Linked DNA regions of Homo sapiens: region 1 is linked to region 2. Evidence: promoter capture Hi-C in human tissues and cell types (Jung and others, 2019). All regions are on one chromosome and are shown on one strand. Each heading gives the region's core, a stretch centred on a gene start or on the middle of the fragment in contact. The rest is flanking DNA. Distances are from core to core; before and after follow the strand shown. Region 1 has its middle 25 kb from the start of ZNF577. Region 2 holds the start of ZNF347 (zinc finger protein 347).

Region 1 (2,700 bases), core at 84-2,583, 1.3 Mb before region 2:
ACTCTCTCTTTTTTTTTTTTTTTTTTTTTTTGAGACAGAGTCTCACTCTGTCACCCAGGCTGGAGTACACTGGTGCAATCTCGGCTTACTGCAACCTCCACCTCCTAGGTTCAAGAGATTCTCCTGCCTCAGCCTCCTGAGTAGTTAGGATTACAGGTGTGCACACCACACCTGGCTATTTGTTTTTTTTTTTTTTTGTATTTTTAGTAGAGACAGGGTTTCATCATGTTGGCCAGGCTGGTCTCGAACTCCCAACCTCAAGTGATCTGCCTGCTTCAGCCTCCCAAAGTGCTGAGATAACAGGCATGGGCCAATGCGCCTGGCCAATGATTCTTCTTGTGAGATCTCTACGGTAAACGAGGGATATCTTCAAAAAAGAAGGCTTAAAATATTCATTGCATCTATAAGGTTTCTCTCCCACAAGAGTTCCAAAAGGGCCCATTACAATCATAGTATTCATGGAACTTCTATTGTGTCTGAGCTGATGTGACTAATCAAAAAAGCTCTCTCATATTCCAAGTCACTGCATGGACTTTCTTCCTTCCTGCTGGGGTTTCTGATGATTAGTAATAGCTGATTTCTGAGTAAAGCTTTTTGACATTCACTGCATCTATAGGGCCTCTTTCCTGTGTGAGTTCTCTGGTGACCAATGAGAGTTTACAAAGTAGCGAATGCTTTCTTACAATCACTGCATTTATATGGTTTCTCTCCTGTATGAATTCTCTAATGTACAGTGAGACAGGATTTAACTATGATGGCTTTATTACACATGCTACATTTGAGGAGTTTCTCACCTGTATAGGTTCTCTGTTATATAATGAGAGTTGACTTACAGGACAAAACCTTCCCACATCCACTGTATCCATAAGATTTCATTCTTGCATGGCAAGTTTTTCGATGCTTACTGAGACCTGTCTTTTGGGTGAAAGCTTGTTGACCTTCATTGCATCATAGGGTCTCTCTCCTGTGTGAATTGGCTGATGAGTCATGAGATATACCTTACTGGAGAAGGCCCTATCACAGTCTGAGCATTCATATGATTTATTTCCTATATGAGTTCTCTGATATACAATGAGATTTCCCTTTGATGTGAAGGCTTTATCACATACATTGCATTTGAAGGGTTTCTCACCTGTATGGGTTCTCTGATGTATAACAAAGTTTTTTTTGGAGGATAAAACCTTCCCACATTCACTGCATTCATGGGATTTCCTTACTGCATGATGAGTTTTCTTATGATTGTTGAGATCCAACTTCCAGATGAAAGCTTCTTGACATTCACTGCATCCATAGGGTCTTTCTTCTGTATGAATTCACTGATGCTTCATAAGCTGAGCCTTTTTCAAGAAGGCTTTCTCATAATCCAAGCAAGCATATGGTTTCTCTCCTGTGTGAGTTCTCTGATGTATAGTTAGCTGTGTTCTAACCATGAAGGCTTTATGATAGACTTTGCACCTGAAAGGTCTCTCTCCTGAATGAGTTCTGAGATGCAAAATGAGGTTCGACTTCCAAGGAAAAGCTTTCCCACATTTACTGCATCCATAGAATTTTCCTTTTCTATGAAGAACTTTCTGAGGATAACTGAGCTCAGATCTGGTCTTCAAAGCTGTTTGACATTGAATGCATTAATAGGGTATCTCTCCTGTGTGAATTCACTGATGAATCATGAATAAAGCCTTTTTTGAGAAGGCTTTTTCACAATCTGAGCAAGCATATGGTTTCTCTCCTGTGTGAGCTCTCTGATGTACAGTGAGATGTGTCCTAACCACAAAGCCTTTATCACATACTTTGCAAATGAACGGTCTCTCTCCTGAATGATTTCTTTGACATAAAATGAGTTCTGACTTCCAAGGGAAAACTTCTCCACATTTGCTGCATGTACAGACTTTCCCTTCTCTATGATGAGTTTTCTGATGATACACAAGCCCTGAATTTGTAATGAAGGCTTTTTGACATTGATTGCATCAGTAGGGTCTCACTCCTGTTTGAGTTTGCTGATGAGCAATGAGCTTTAACTCACTGGGAAGGGCTCTCCTAAAATCATGAGATTCCTGGGATTTGTTTCCTGCATGAGTTCTCTGAGGCATGGTCATGAGTAGTTTACAAGTATTCACTGCACATTCACTGCATCCATATGATTTCTTTCCAAAAAGAATTGGTTATAATTAGCAAGCTCTGACTTCTGGATGTTATGAAAGCTAGTGTACGCACAACAGAGTAAGTGAGATAACAAGAAGAGGTCCAGAAAAAGGCTTCTTTTCCCATTTACCATAAAAAGATATTAGTAAGATGGTTAAATTTGAGTAAGCTCTGTATTTTAAATAATAATACTATATCAATGTCAATATTCTGATTTTGATCACAGTATTCTGATTATGCAAAAGAATGCTCTTCTTCCTATGAAATACACACTTGGGTTTTAGGGTAGAGTTCAGAAAAACCATATGTACCTGTGTGTGGTGTGTGTGTATAGATAAAATAAAGCAAATTGGTAAAATCATATTTTGGGGAAATTTGCAAAAAGAATGTGCAAGAATTTTGTGTATCATTTTGGAACATCTCATTAAATCTAGACCATTTGGAGACAAGCATTTTCAAAAGGAGAAAATAAAAATAAAGATATTGATGAAAACATACATAGGGACACTAAGTATAATGGCCTGAATGTAAAAGAGATAAACAGTGTAATATTCACCCAAT
Region 2 (2,709 bases), core at 26-2,525:
CCTGGCTCCAAATCCCTCCTCCTCTCCCGGACTCTGTCTGAGGAGCCTCCCACTTTCTGGCCCTCTCCCTACCTTGCTGTCCTTCATGTCTCTGGACATCGAGCTTTTCTCTACATTTCCCCAGTTGCTTTTCTCCTTCTGCCTTCTCAGCTCCTTCTCTTACCATCTGCAAATCCCTCGCCCATCCTCTACTTTGCCATCTGGTTACGGGTTTCCCTCACTCTTTCCTCTCAGTTTTTCTACTTCTCTCTCTGTCTCTGCCCCTTTCTCTACCTGCTAATCCCCTTGGTCCACACATTCACAGGAAGGTTTGGACTAAGACGCCTGCATCTTGGAGGAGCGCATTTTCCAGGGGCTGGAGCTGGGCAGGCAAGAACACCGGGTGTCACAGGACAGGCCCCGGGCACCTCCCCAGCGCGGGCTCAGGAGAAGCGGGGACTGCGAAGGGGAGGCCTGGGGAGCAGCAGGGCCCGGCACGAGGAGGAGGGAGGTGGCGGGGCGACGGCGCCTTAGAAGAGGGGTGGGGTCTGCAGGATGCCAGGACCAGGCAGAGGACGCGGCCTCGCCGGTACCGGGGCTGAGGAGCTGCGCTCCAGGGGCCGACGAGGGCGAGGCTGGGAGGCACCCAGGGCGGGAATCCACCTCGCGGGCGAGGACTTTAAAAAGCCCGGGGCGGGAGGAGGGGTCAGGAAAGGGTTTTAAGCGGGAGGAAGACGCGAAAGGCCGGGGACAGGGAGAAGCCTCAGAGCTACTTCAACCCAAAGAGAAGCGACTCCGAACCCACACCGCGAGTCAGCTGGGGTGGAGGGCGCGGTGCGGGGATCTTAAGGTCTGTAGCTGCCGGGCGCAGTGGCTCACGCTTGTAACCCCAGCACTTTGGGAGGCCGAGGCGGGCGGATTACCTGAGGTCAGGAGTTCGAGATCAGCCTGGGCAACACGGTGAAACCCCGTCTCTACTAAAAATACAAAATTAGCCGGGCGTGGTGGCACATGCCTGTAATCCCAGCTACTCGGGAGGCTGAGGCAGGAGAATCGCTTGAACCTGGGAGGCGGAGGATGCGGTGAGCCGAAATCGCGCCATTGCACTCCAGCCTGGACAACAAGAGTAAATCTCCGTCTCACCAAAAAAAAAAAAAAAGAAAAAAAAAAAGGTCTGTAGCGAGCCCGGGAACTGGCTGCGGAAACGGGGCACGGCGGTTCGCAAGTTTAATCCATACTGAGGGACACTCACGCTCGGCGGCGTCACCCGCACCCAACACGATCCGCTTCCGGAACTGCAGAAAACTGCGCGTGCGCGGAAAAGAGCCCGGGCACTCTGGGGGCGGGGCCTGGGGAGAGGCGGGGTCTGCGGACGAAACGCTGGGGCGGAGCTGGGGCGGGGTCTGCGCTTCCCTCAGCCTGCCTAGCCCGCAGTCTCATTTTTCCCGGTTTAGAAACGCTGGAGTGTTCACTATGTCCCCGGGAGCACCGTTCCAATTTGAAGCAGTTTTAAGGTGAAAGAATAGACTTACGTGGACCACTTATGATAGAAACCAAAATGATTTCCTCTTACCAAGTTGAAAACGGTTTATGTTAAAATTGTTTGCCGGCGGGTTGGACCCAGTCCTGCTAGGGAGTCTGCTGCAGCTCAGGAACGGGGATCTGGGAATCGGGGATCTCGGTCTGGGAACTGGGATCTTAGTGGAGGATCCACGAGGCACGGCGATTGGATCCAGCAATTCCTGCAATTAAAATGTATTTAATTTAACTAAAATGTCTGGAAATTATCTCTGAGGATGATTCAAAGTAGAATGGGAAATGCAGCATCCTACCTGGACGGATATGCAATTTAATGCAGTAGCCCAACAGAACCTCCTTTACATTTCAAATCCCCATTCTCCCCAGTGGAAGAGTCAAGCCTGTGCTCAATTCATGGGAAGGTTAAGGCCGATAAGTTAGATCACCAAGGGCTGCTTTATTGTTCTTTAAAACATATATTTTTGTAAAGATGGGAGTCTCGGCCCAGGCTGGTCTCCAACTCTTGACCTCAAGCAATCCTCCTGCCTGGGCCTCCAAAATTGCTGGGATTACAGGAGTGAACTACTGTGCCCAGTCAACTACTGATTTAAACCATGTGAATTTTTAAAAAATAGAGATAAACTGCATTATTTTTGCTTATATTCGTTATTCCGTTCCACACTTGAAATGACTTAACCACAAACAACTTTGACATAATCTTTCTTTGCATCAAAATATGCTTAAATCAATAATTTCTAAATATCATGTAATTTCAAATTCACTTTATGGGCATTCTGAAGGGAACTTGACACAGTACTTTTTATTTTAAAATTGTAATCTATATTGGGTCTATTTTTTTGTTTTCTGTTTCTTAATGTTCTATCAGATGTGGATAACAGAGTGTGGAAAATAGTCACCACATGACAATTGGATTTATTTTCGCCTAAAGAATAGTTTTCCAGTATTTCTAACGTACCATCCCAGTACATTGACTGAACTAAAGACTCACAGGGATACCCTTTTTTCATGTTTATAGAGAACCTAGTTTATACCTGCTATTGTCTTATGTACATTTTCATGTCACACAATTTTATCTCCAAACAACACCCTTATTTATATACACCGTATAGTTTTCACTTTAACAAAATATTAAACGTTTCATCTGGGTTACAATATATGAAAGAAAAAAATAAAAGGGAAAATCATATTAAA

The links. The method cuts DNA at HindIII sites, captures the fragments that hold promoters and counts their contacts. A contact is called where the count stands out against the background at its distance.
Region 1: a contact is called between a fragment that was not itself captured here and the fragment with the promoter of ZNF347 in region 2, in 1 of the 25 tissues and cell types used here (adrenal gland).

The regions. Positions count from the first base shown.
Region 1 is chr19:51,861,106-51,863,805 of GRCh38, forward strand. It overlaps a transcript of ZNF577 not described here and the pseudogene LOC100419706. Among named protein-coding and RNA genes, the nearest start is that of ZNF577, 25 kb to the right of the region's middle. The HindIII fragment of the contact is 3,923 bases long and covers 1-2,700 here.
Region 2 is chr19:53,157,778-53,160,486 of GRCh38, forward strand. ZNF347 (zinc finger protein 347) reads right to left here and starts at 1,276. Exons shown (of 5, transcript NM_032584.3): 1 at 1,232-1,276. RefSeq lists an enhancer at 1,179-1,473 and a silencer at 1,209-1,458. The HindIII fragment of the contact is 7,458 bases long and covers 1-2,709 here.